2 separate regions of the Homo sapiens genome follow, and region 2 is linked to region 1. The links are contacts of gene promoters, found by promoter capture Hi-C in blood cells and fetal thymus (Javierre and others, 2016). All regions are on one chromosome and are shown on one strand. The core of a region is centred on a gene start or on the middle of the fragment in contact, and the rest is flanking DNA. Distances in the headings are between cores, read along the strand shown.

The links. Contacts are between HindIII fragments. The CHiCAGO score rates a contact against its expected background, and 5 or more counts as called.
Region 2: a contact is called between the fragment with the promoter of SH2D4B here and the fragment with the promoter of CCSER2 in region 1, in 3 of 17 cell types (total B cells, M0 macrophages and activated CD4 T cells). The highest score is 7.3, in total B cells.

What each region holds. Positions count from the first base shown.
Region 1 is chr10:84,326,301-84,332,808 of GRCh38, forward strand. It overlaps CCSER2 (coiled-coil serine rich protein 2), which reads left to right and starts at 2,289. Exons shown (of 10, transcript NM_001284240.2): 1 at 2,289-2,508. RefSeq lists a silencer at 2,053-2,782 and enhancers at 2,833-3,182, 4,230-4,309. The HindIII fragment of the contact is 12,289 bases long and covers 1-3,094 here.
Region 2 is chr10:80,536,183-80,542,690 of GRCh38, forward strand. It overlaps SH2D4B (SH2 domain containing 4B), which reads left to right and starts at 1,720. Exons shown (of 8, transcript NM_001388272.1): 1 at 1,720-2,333. The coding sequence starts at 2,150. RefSeq lists enhancers at 18-117, 3,424-3,563, 4,601-4,780, 4,931-4,990, 5,161-5,280. The HindIII fragment of the contact is 17,935 bases long and covers 1-5,658 here.

The sequences.
Region 1 (6,508 bases), core at 1,039-3,538:
CAAGAGTTTGAGGCCAGCCTGGCCAACATGGTGAAATCCTGTCTCTATTAAAAATACAAAAATTAGCTCGGCGTGGTGGCACATGCCTGTAATCCCAGCTATTTGGAAGGCTGAGGCAGGAGAATCGCAGAACCTGGGAGGTGGAGGCTGCAGTGAGCCCAGATCTCACCACTGCACTCCAGTGTGGGTGACAGAGCAAGATTCCATCTCAAAAAAAAAAGAAAAGACCCAGGAAAATTAACTGAAAGCAAATAAAACGTATCAAGGATGCTTATAAAATTAGGAAAATACACTAAAATGCTATTGTGATTCTGCTAAGTATGTACATGTATTAGCATTATGGGAAAGTTTTTTCCTAGCCTTCTTTTTTTTTTTTTTTTTTTTTGGAGACAGGGTCTTGCTCTGTCACTCAGGCTGGAGTGCAGTGACATGATCACAGCTCACTGTAGTCTCAACCTCCTGGGCTTAAGTAATCTTACTGCCTCAGCCTTCTGAATAGCTGGAACTACAGGCATATGCCACTAAGCCTGGTTAATTTCTTTTTTTTTTAATAGACTAGGTCTCTATGTTGCCCAGGCTGATCTTGAACTCCTAGGCTCAAGTGATCCTCCCGCCTCAGCCTCTCAAAGTGTTGAGGTTACAGTCGTGAGCCACCACAACTGGCCTGGGCATTTTATTTTATTTTATTTTATTTTTGAGATGGAGTCTCACTCTGCCGCCCAGGCTGGAGTGCAGTGGCATGATCTCATCTCACCGCAACCTCCACCTCCCAGGTTCAAGCAATTCTCCTGCGTCAGCCTCCTAAGTAGCTGGGATTACAGGAATGCGCCACCACGCCCGGCTAATTTGTTGGTATTTTTAGTAGAGACGGGATTTCACCATATTGGCCAGCCTGGTCTTGAACTCCTGACCTTGTGATCCTCCCACCTTGGCCTCCCAAAGTGCTGGGGTTACAGGCTTGAGCCATCGCCTCCGGCCTGGTGTTTGCTTTTCTAATCTCACTTAATCCAAAGAGAGATTGCACAGCATTTAGACCTAGTCTTTGTCAATATTTTAAGCACACATTATTGTCCAATACATTAAATATCTTAGGGATTGATATTTAAAAGACATTATTTTCTAAATATGAAAGTGTATTATTAAATGAAGTGTGGTTATACAAATCAGGCATTCCGTCTGCTTTTTCCATTTGAGTATCATTGATCTGGAGACAGGAAAGAACTGGATATTTTTCAAGCAGTTCTCCTGAAATGTTATTACAACCGAGCTGTTGGGGCCGACGAGGATTTCAGAGAACTGCAAGTCTACAACCAGGTAAGGGCAACTCCAGAGCTTTAAACAGCCGGCCAGGCCCGGAAGCCTTCCAGGCTGAGGACTCTCAGCAGCAGGACTGGCCGCGTCGAGGAAAAACAAGAGGGGAAGAGATGGCCTCTGGGGGATGGAAGCCCCAAAGGGAAGAAAGACCTGGTTTCTGGCAAAGAAACCACATTGGCCAGGAGCTGTGGCTCACGCCTGTAATCCCAACACTTTGGGAGGCCAAGGTGGGAGGATTGCTTGAGCCCAGGAGTTTGAGACTAGCCTGTAAGACCACTTCCCCCAACTCTAAAAAGAAAAAATAAAAATTAGCCGGGTATTTGGGTCAACTTGTGATAGTTTACTTTGACTAGTGTGGTCTTAGTTGTAATTATTTCGGAGGCTTGGTGATACACGCCTGAGGCGAGAGGATCGCTTAAGCCCAGGAGGCTGCAAGTGAGCTGTGATAGCGCCACCGAACTCCAACCTGGGTGACAGGGCGAGACTCTGTTTCAAAAAAAAAAAAAAAAAGGGAAAACCAGATCAGCACTTGGGGTGCCCCTTCCCCTCAGCTTTAGCAAGATCCTGTGTTTTGATGCGGTAGGCAGGTGCGTGGTTCAGTCATGCCCAATGCTCAGACCACTCCTCACTTTTCACATCCAGGAGGAGGAGCTGTCAGGTTTGACCGCACTCAAGCAGCAAATGTAGTCCAGGGGACGGCTAGAGGTGAGGTCAGCCGCAAGACTGGCGTCACTGCGTGGGCCCAGCAAAAACCTGAGTCAGGAGGCGGCCAGGCAAGGTCAGTGGAGGGGGCGGGGCCCGAAGCGGAGGCGGAGCTTGGGAAAGCCTGGCGTGAGGGCGGGGCGGGGCCAGAGGTGGGCTGAGGCCGGATCAGGCGGTGGGGGCGGTCCCCGTAGCCCCGTGAGGCTCGCGCCTGCGCACGGGCCCGCGGCGGGGCGGGACTGCGCGTGCGCGGTGCGCCGGCCCTGGAGGGCGGAGTCCGGGCGGGCGCCGGCCGAGGGAGGGGGCGCGGCGGCTTTGGAGTCCGGCGCTCCCTCAGGCCGCGGACGCGATGCTGGTTGCTGCGGCTCGGGCGGCGGGGCTGGCGGGGATGTGACGGGCGGCCCTTCGTCTCACCTTCCGTCCTCGGGCCCGCAGGTCGCAGGGCGGCCTGCAGCTGGGCCGCGGCCGAGGAGGCAGCGCGACCTCCGCACGGTGAGATCCGGGCTCAGGGCCAGAGCCGGGGCCGGGGTCGCGGCGGGCGCCGGGGGCAGCCCAAGACCAGGCACGCAGTCCGGGGCGGGGCGGAGGCCCGAACTCCCGGGCTGAGGCGGTGTCGCCCTCCCGTACCCGGCCTCCAGGGTGAGCCTCTCTAGCCCCTCGCGAGCCGCCGGACGCGGGGCGGGCGCGGACCCGGGAGGCCGGAGGGCGCCCTCCCTGCGGCTGTGACAGCGCGGGGCCTCGGGCCGCGGGCGCCGCCGCCTTTCAGGAGAAATCAGGGCGAGGCTGAGGCACTCTGATTTCGGAGCCTGGTTGCGTGTGAGGGTGGATAGGGAAAGTACCGGGGCTCCCCGAATGAGTTCGATTTTTTTTTTCTTTCAATTACTGGGCTAAATGAAAGACACACCCTAAAACACATCCTGAGGTGAAACTTTGGTGGGGCACACCGTTGCCGTAGGTTCAGATCTTCTCTCTTGTCTTTAGACATGTATTTTCATACATTTTTAAATAATGCACCTACTTTCTTGATAAAGTAAAAGGAGGAATGAAGGGACTCCTTTGTGGTGGTCCTTGGTGGCGAAGCTTGTTTCCATTTCAGTAATTGCATATTCATCTGTGTGGGCTCCCCGACCAATGAGGCTGGCTGCTCCCAGACAAGGCCTTAGCGGAGTGGAAATGACTGACGCAGGGACTCTGGTCTCAGATTAGAGTGTTGGTAGCTCACTCCTGTAAGAGAGAAATTGAGCTTTAAGCTTTTTAAAATAGCCATATGAAAAGCATTCCTTTTCTCCTGAGCATTAAAATATGACGGAACCTATTCATTTGGCCAGTTGTTTTTTTTAAAGCATCATCTTTTAGACTAGAGACTTTAGAGATGGCAGCTGCTCTTTAACCAAAAGGAACTTAAGATGCTCTCCTGCAAAAGATGGGTTCAAAACATGTCTTATCCGTCATCCATATGTGATAAAAATGTAAATATTCCTGAGTGTTTGCCTGAAATCAGTCTTCTTCCTCTTGGACTTTATTACTGTTTCTCTTAATTTATGAAAGCTTGTTACTGTTATTTTTTGTTTTCGTTTGTGTTCTAAACAACATTGGCTTCAAATAATCTTCAGGTTAAAAATGCACACTTTGTTGAACCCTTTAGCCATAATTCATACTGTCGTACTTCAGCATAAGCCATAGTTAAGAAAGCACTAGAAGCCATCCTGAAAGCAAGCCGAAAGTCTCTATTAAGAATTCTGTAAAAATTCTACCTTTCCACATTCAGACCTGCATTTTTTGTTGCTTTGACTCAACTCCTTTGACTATTTTGGAGGAAGGGACTTTGAATCCATATTTACAAGTCCTTCAGTGACTCTCCATAGTCTATATCGATAAAATTCAAAGTCCTTCATGATTAGCGGTATTTGTCTCCATTCTAGTGTCATCTTCTACCATTATGCCTGCCCTCTCTATATAAGACTGTTGCAGTTCTCTGAAGATGACATCTTCCTCTGTGGTTTTTCAGTGTTCTTTGTTGAGAATTCTCTACCTAGTAAACAACTTGCCCTTGAAGACCTTACGAAAGTAGCACTTCTGAGGCTTGTCTAGACATTTCATCCCTCTTGTCTTAACTGATTCGTACACTCTCCAGTTAGTATTTGTCAACTGGTAGTTAATGATTTGTTTATGTGTCTGTCTCCACCAGGTTTTGGGGTTTCTTTTGTGTTTTTTGAGACAGAGTCTTGCACTGTGGCCTGGGCTGGAGTGCAATGGCCTCATCTCGGCTCACTGCAACTTCTGCTTCCTGGGTTCATGCGATTCTCTTGCCTCAGCCTCCTGAGTAGCTGGAATTATAGGCACACACCACCACACCTGGCTAATTTTTTTTTAGTAGAGACGGGTTTCAGTATGTTGGCCAGACTGGTCTCAAACTCCTGACCTCGTGATCCGCCCACCTCGGCCTCCCAAAGTGCTGGGATTGTAGGCTGGTTAGGAATGAAACCCCAGTTATGTTAAAAAAAATCCATTTTATGATACAGGAATAAAAAGGGCATGACCAATAAAGATTGCTGCTTCATTGGTCCTACAACTTTATTTTGAGGCGCAAAGTCACGCAGGTAGAAAGGGATGGCGGGGATTACAGTCCAGGTCTTTTGACCATCTGTGTATTTCACTTTTGCCCCCAGTCTCCTAATTCTAAATCTTAATTGTTTTACAATTTGAATGGGAGTTGTGAGCGACTTGGATGTGTTCTGAAAAAAGGGTCAATAGAATATTGAACTTGAAAGAATTAACAGATTATTTGGTTCAACTTTAAAAATTTTACGGTTAAACAACTCAGCCTAAAAAGACAACTTGTTTGAGATTGCTTAGGCTCACCTACATCTCATATCTCCTGACCTCATCATTGTGTGTTTTTCACTACTCCATGGTGCTTTGGGGTGAAATGAAGGAGCTGCCAGTTTTTCAGAGGGAGTGCAAATCTGCTTGCACTTTCTCCCTCTTTGAATACATGGCTGCCACTCCTAGGGACTTAGAACCCTTGTGGCTGAGAAACATGATAATTCATTTGGGGATATGGGAGAAACCTAACCTTCACTATTCCTCTCAGCCAGATAGTTTTAACTTCAGTGCTTGGGGCGCTCTCTCCAGATGCCCCATAACAAGTGGCTTCTGATCACCATATGGACATCTCACATACAGTTAAGTTTTGATGGTACAATGAGATTTTAATATAAGAAGGTTGCAGCTGGCTAATAGCATGGCTAAAATTACTTGTGTGGCTTGTCTGTGAGAGGAGCCTATCTTACTCCTATGTGATAGGATTTTGGGGGAAAAAATTGATGATTGTGGCTGTCTCTAAAAAGTTGAAATGTGTACTTAGTGGTGTGGGCCTGACCAATTCCAAAAGGCTTTTTATCTTACAAACAATGGTCAAAGAAATTTTAAAAATCAAAACAAACTTAATTTTTCTTCTTATTTCTTGTCATATCAGTGGTTTTATATGATAAAGCATACACATAATGCTTAATATTTGCTTTCATATTTGATGTTTTATTTTTGCTATAGTTTTTATACCTTTAGATGATTATACAGTGTTACAATGTCATTTCTTAATAATTGGACATCTAGATTGTTTACTATTTTGCAGATAATGCCGTTAGTATATAGCTGTTTATCATTTTGCTTCTTCCCTTTGGGCTAAAGGCCCAGGAGCAGTATTACAAAGTCAGAGGGTATGAAGGTTTTGTTAATTCTGAAAAATATTACTAGATTTACTTCTAAAAGATATTGATTTACAGACTCCAGTAGAGTTTGGTTGACCATTTCTATCATACTTTATAGGTTTTTGCTTTTAAAAGTTTGTTTTTTAAAAATGAGGATAAGGTTCCTTGCAGTTTAACATCATAGTCCATAATAGACAAGCAAATGCAGTATTCTTCTAGTTTTATTTTCTCCTTTATTTGTCCATCGTCCATAAATTTATTGGAATCTTCTCACCAATTTTCATTAGCACTAACATCATAAATATATTAATCTCTTGAAAAACATTTCTGATCTATTTTTTCTTATTGTAGGCTTTATAGATTTTATATTATTAAATTTATTTTTTTATATATATATATATATATATATATTTTTTTTTTTTTTTTTTTTTGAGACAGAGTCTTGCTCTGTTGCCAGGCTGGAGTGCAGCGGTGCCATCTCGGCTCACTGCAACCTCTGCCTCCTGGGTTCAAGCGATTCTCTTGCCTCAGCCTCCCCAGTAGCTGGGACTACAGGCACGCGCCACCACGCCTGCCTAATTTTTGTATTTTTAATAGAGATGGGGTAATCCCTATATTATATATTTTTTTAAAAAATCAGTGTGGCTGGGTGTGGTGGATCACACCTGTAATCTCAGCACTTTGGGAGGGTGAGGCGGGAGAATCGCTTGAGCCTAGGAGTTCAAGACCAGCCTGGGCTGTTAACATAGTGAGACCCCCATCTCTATTTTAAAGAAAAAAGA
Region 2 (6,508 bases), core at 470-2,969, 3.8 Mb before region 1:
TCGGTGTCTCTTGGCCTCCTGCCCCGCTGACCTGGGAGTGCCAGGGATCACCCCGCCCCCAGCGAGATCCCCTCTATCGCACAAAATGGGCGCTAGCGGGGGTCATTCTAGTCCGGCTGCCTCACTCTCCCGACGGTCCTCCAGGGTGGCACCATCACCGTTCTCGCCCGCCTCCAGCCGGCCCATTCCTGCTGCTCCCTACAGCGTTGTCCCTGCCCCGTGCCCTCTTGTGGTCGTAGGTATCTGGCGGCCCGGGAAAGACAAAAAGAAGCTGCCCGCAGGAGCCCAGACCCTGGGGGCCTTCCTCCCCTTGTCTCCTCTTTGGACTCGGGGGTCTCCCACCAGCCACGGCGAGGGGGAGAAAGAGAATAGCTGGGCAGAGGCTAGGGAAGACCCCCGGTCTCAGAAACTGAGGGGAGCCAGGACTCCCGGTGGGGGAGTCGGTGCAAGCCCTGAGGTGGGTGGATGGGAGTCCAGGGCCACAGCTCTGCAGCGGACAGGCGAGTCCTGTGGCGGCTCTAGGAAGGTCTGGGCACACTGGGACCAGCTAGCTGGACCTGGGTGGGGAGGGGTGGGGCGTCTGACTCCACTCCTGTGACCTGGACATTGCCTAGCTGAGCAGGAGCTTTGACCCTATGGGCTTACAGCTCATCTGAATCTGCTTAGTCCATCTTCCTGTTGTGTTAACCTTGCAGAGGGGGAAGAATGCCAACTCTCCACCCCTCTTCCATCACTCTTGGGTACCTGATCCACCTTCCACCCTCATGGGCAAGGAAGGGGACAGGAAGGTCACCAATCCAACCAAGCCACAGTGCCAAATCCTGTTGGTTCGTTTGTTTTCCCTTGGTTGGGTTATGTTTTCAAACCATCAACAGATTCATAGTTGCTAGTGGATGTCAAATTTCAAAACGGGGGAGTCCCAATACAGTGACTTGTCCATTAGGAAGCCATAGGCAAGCCACTTACTTTCTCTGAGCTTCAATATCCTTGTCCCAATAAGAAGGCATCTGTGATTTGCTCTGAGCACATATTTAGGGTGAGCTTTCACCCTAAAGATCTCAGCAACGGCAGCTTCTACCCACCTTCACACACCAAAGAGAGGGTGGCTTCCCTCCCAGCAGAAGGCAACATCCCGCCATTCCAGTGTGCTTCTGATCAGGGCACAGAGAAGAGCCAGTTTCATCTTCTTTCTTTTTGGTCAACTCCAGGCATCTGCAACAAACAAGATTAACAACGACCATTAAAACTGGCCCCTGGAGGGTTTATCTGTCAGCCACGCATGGCTGCAGGATCTCATTATATATAGGCCAAAGGGAAAGGATGTCTGCTTCCTTTCTGTCCTGGAATTCCAAGATAAAATCCCCTCCAGTTGTCTCTACTGATTCCATTTTGTTTTCTTTCTTGGCTGTAACACAGATAGGAGGAAAAATCTTTCCTCCCCCAAGGCAGAGTTTTAAACGCATCATCTCAGAATGCCAAATGTTCTGGAAAGGAAGAAAGTTGGCAGCGAAGGAACCCGCAGAGAGAGGGGCTGAGAGGGCTGAGGGGCCCAGCAGCTTCTGGCAGGCTCCTCTGGTCTGTGTTTGAAATTGGCTGAAAAGACATGGAATTTAGTAGGCAAGTCTGCCTCCTTCTCCTCCTCTTATCTGCAGAGGAGAGATCAGTTCCCAGCTGGCCGGGGCAGTGTCATTGATATAGCTGGTGTCATTGTTACCTTCCACTAACAGATCACTCGACACCTACCAGCCCAGGCAGGGCTGGGACTGGGCATTTCCTGGCTGAGCTGGAGGCTTGGGCCCTTCCCATTGTCTCAGAACCCCAGGTGATGCCAAGACATGGGCTCTCCTGGGATGCCGTGCTTGGTGACCCAGGAGAAGGACTAGATTGCTCCTGGTGGTTGCTCCCCCTTGCAGAGTCCCACCTGCCCCTTTGGGTCCTGTTGCCTGGCCTCTTTTGCTGTCCTGGGTAGAGGAGATGAGTTCGTCGCTGGCTGCAAGCTGAGGCCAACTGACAATGCTGCACAGAGAAGGGGCACCGAGAGTGGCCCCGGATTGAGCAGTCCGTAGTGCAGAGCAGCCCCTCGGGCGTTCTGCCTGGCCCTGCTTCCCCTGCTGGCTGCCCTTCTGGTGCGTGCATCCCAGGTGGCATCATGCTGCAGCAGATCCTGCACGACATGTACATCGACCCCGAGCTCCTTGCCGAGCTCAGCGATGTGCAGAAGCACATCCTCTTCTACAAAATGCGGGAGGAGCAGCTGAGGCGCTGGAAGGAGCGGGAGACTTGGGAGGCCCTGGCCCAGGACGAGGGTCTCAGGCCTCCAAAGACCAAGCGAGGTACGTGGCTGGGAGTCACAGAGAGGTAGGCCACCAGTCCCCCAGGAGGTAGAAAAATTAGCAGGGCCAGGCTGTGCCCTTCTTCAAGATGGGCACTGGGGTGATGAGGGCTGGGGGCTTGAAACCCTTGTCTTGTGGGCATCAGGTCCCATGAGCCTGTGCTTTTGCCTTTTGGCCAGGACCTTAGGGCTTCGAGGCTGCTGCAGAGGCTGTCCAGCGGCCCTTATTGGAGTCGGGGAGTTGGGACTTGCTTTGTCTTGTTGTGGAAGGCCCGAGTTCTGGGAAGACACCATTGAGACTTCAGATTGTGCTCCGACGTGGTTGGCAATGGTAGGGTGAACGACGGCATATTTGTGACCCTTGCCATTGGTTCTGGGCCAGAGTGTGGTGTAGATATGCAGTTCCTTTCTCCTTGGCATGCGTGGCACACCAGTTCTTGGCTAGGGCCCCTTCTGTGGACTGTGCCTCTCCCTCCAGATCCTCCGGCAGGAGGATGCTGTGGGTTGTCTCTGGAGCCCCACTGGGCATCCGGAGAGAGGGCATCAGGGAACGTCCCACACAATGAATGACCATCCCCAAATGGTCGTAGCAACTGCAGATGAGAAGCAAGGGCCTAGCCTACATTTCAGGTGTTTTGTATGCAAAGTCATGTGCCAGTCAATCCTATGGACTGGTACACCTGTGGGTGAAGGAAATCATCCAGGACCCCTGGGCCAGAAACTGGCAGGCTGCTGAGGCTTGGCTTGGCACAGGACTCAATCCTGCCAGGGATTGTAGTTTCTGTGGATGCTGCATGCACTTTACAGTTTGCAAGGCTTATGTGCCTTCACCCTTTGAAGTTTTCAATCCAGAACAAAGTCCTGTTTCAGGGCTGAGCACACAGCTCCCTTGGTGATCTGGCTCTTCTCCATGCCAGGCTCACTGCTGGCCAGTCCCCACCAGGTGCCACAGGCCACACCCACATCATCTGGACATGCTTGCTCTTGTCTCTGGTCTTCACATGAGTGGCTCTCACCGTTGGGAATGTCCTTCTGCCTTCATCCACCTGACAGACTCCATCAGGAGTGGCCCCCCTGCCCTGGAGTGTTCAGGGATGCTCTTGCATAGGGCAGTACTTGCTCCTCTGTGGCTGCCTGGCATGTAGGACCCACGCCTGCCCTGGCATTTGCCACCCTGTCATTGTCATTCCTCATCTGCTTGCCTGGCTCTCCGATGGGCTCAAAGGCACTGGTGTGTGAGGGCTTCCTCCACTCTATCTTCCTCCCCTGGGCCCAGCACAGAGGTGGCACATGGTGTTAAATCCTTGTTTTGAACAAGACACAGCAGGACCCTGCCGGGGAGGTTGGGGCAGAGCTGTGACTTGGCTGCAGGTGGCTGCTGCCAAAGCTGGGGCCTTCCGGGCTGGGCTGCGCTGGCAGCTGCATCACTAACTGGTGAAATGACAAGCCACCTTGCCAGCACCACCCGGCCTGAGCCCTGGGGACTCATGATGCCTGCATGATGACTCTTCTTGGAGGGAGACAGATGCCTAAAAATTTAACTGCAAAAATATTTATACAGAGATTTGTCACACATAGACATCTACATTTTCATGTATAAATTATACATTAAACTCATTTGAGTTTCTGGTGCAGAAGATCCTTTTTCTGGTAATTAATTTTCTGATTTATAAAGAATGGAAAAGCAGGAAAGCACGCCGAGGAATGTGTGTATCCCAGGTCAGGATCCCGCTTGGATCCTGGCTCTTTGCTTCGGTCCTGCCTTTTGGAACTGTCTGGGCATGCCACTGGGGAGCCTGGGGGCTGGCCCTGCCCAGGAGCCGGAAGAGCTTTCGGCCGGAGGGTCCAGGATATACAGTATCTGCTTCATGTCCTGGGGTCGTGATGAAGGGTGGCAACAACTTGTGAGCTTTACGTTGACTGGGTGCCTACCCAGCCCTTGCTGCTCCCGTGTCCCTGCGGGGTGGCAGGGCAAGCTCCCTGATTTCATTGCAGATAAGGAAGGTGAGGCTCAGAGAAGTGATGCGCTACATCCAAGGTCATCCAGCTGCTACATCTCATGACTTGGATCTGGGGTCTGGTGACTGATTTTTTTTCTGTTCATTCACTTCCAAACTCGGAACTCCAATTAAACAAGTGAGCTGTGCACACATTCACTTGTTCACTCATTCACCAATTCATTCACTTATCCAGCATTACTATGTGCTGATTTCAGTGAATGGGGCAGTGCTTGTCCTGGAGACGGTGGGTAGATGGATCATAGGGAACACAGCCAACTCGAGTGCCAAGGGTGAGGCTTGGTTCAAAGCAGCCGTGCCGTGTCCCAGGGCGGGAATTGTGCGGGGACGGGCTCCACGGAGGAATCTTCTCTTCCTTCCCTTGATGTTGCCAGAGGACTCAGGAGGCTCTCCAGATGCTGGTGAGACCCCAGCCCCAGTTGATGTCCAGGCTCTTGAAACTGTCTTGAGAAAGAACTCGGGAATGAGTCAGAATGATAGGAAAGGCAAGAAACTGTTAGTGAGAAGCGAAAGTACACACTTGAGAGAGAAGTGCGGGCGTGCTCATGAGAACGTGTCACACCCAGCAGAGTCTGGGTTTCTAATTTTATGGGTGTTTCTTTAATTAGGGGATGGAACAATTATTAGGTGTTCTGGAAGAGGAGGAGATTTCAGGGAACCCCCTGGGTTACTGTCTCCTTTCTCCCTTCTTTGGGTTTGCCCAGAAGAGCCATGGACAAGTCACCCTGAGTGGGATTTCAGCTGTTTTTACTCTCTTCCTTTGGGTTTTCTGTTATCTTGTTGTTTCTTTGTCTTGTTCTTGTTTTAGCTGTTGTTTGGGTTTTTCCATGCTCCTGTGACCACCCAGTGCTATTCTTGTCTCATTGACAGGCATCCTCTTTCCTGGTCCCCTCCCTACACATTTTTTTTCTGAAGGAAGCACCTGCTGTAGCCCTGCTGAGCTGTTTGCTGGCCCCTTGGGATCCCTGAGCATGACGTGGGTTAGTCCTGGTCAGCCTAGAGTGACACTGGGCCTCCTCCGGGCCATCGTCCCCAGTGCTCTAAAGCCTTCCCTCTCCCCTCTTTTCTGGGAACATTCCTCGCTCCTGGCAAGCCTGGCTTTGCCATCCCTTGGGCTCAAGTAACACTCCCCATGTCCCTACAGACAGGCAGGCAGGACAAGGTGTGCCTTGTGCCTGAGAACCTCACAGCCCCGGAGTTGTGCCTGGTGAGGGTGCGAGTAAACACTGGTGATGTGAATCATTCTCGTTTACAGAACCTAGGAGGTTTTCTTGATTCTGAGATCCACATTTGGAACCCACAGAAGTAAGCTTGGGTGAAAGCTTAGAGGCGGACTGTGAAAGGTAGGAAGGAGAGGAGATGAGGGCACGGCTGGACACATCACTCCTCTGAGCACATGGCATTTCTTTTCTGTTTTCACTTTACGCTTTGGCAAGAACCCTCTGATGTTCTATGCTGTGGTGGATGGTGTGGACCCCTCAGCTTGGTAGGTTTTTTAAATCTAACATCATGCTTATTGTGCTATCACGTTTCTGACAAAGTTCGTTGTCCAGTATATTGAGTATATTGAGACTCAGAGAAGGCATGTTATCACATTATGTCCCAGCAAGACTTCAGTCAAACCCCTCTAGCATGGCCACGACCTGTGCAAGCTCGTTCTCTCCTCATTCTCCTTGGCCACCACAGGAATGCACATCCTGTGTTAGGAATTATGAACTTCACAACCCTGTGGACTCCTCTCTGCTTACTCAGTCATCCCAGGTTCTCAGGGCCAGAGCTGGGTGTGACCAGGGGACACAGGACTGAGGACACATGTCCACACTACTGACCCAGGAAGCTTCCCTGTTTGGACCTGTCAGTTCTATCTTTTTTTTTTTTTTTTTCAGACAGAATCTCACTCTATTGCTCAGGCTGAAGTGCAGTGGTGTGATCTCGGCTCACTGCTACTTCTGCCTCCCGGGTTCAAGCGATTCTCCTGTCTCAGCCTCCCAAGTAGCTGGGATTACAGGCGCCCACCACCACAACCAGCTAATTTTTGTATTTAATAGAGACATGGTTTCATCATGTTGGCCAGGCTGGTCTTGAACTCTTGACCTCAGGTAATCCGCCCTCCTCGGCCTCCCAAAATGCTGGGATTACAGGCACGAGCCACTGTGCC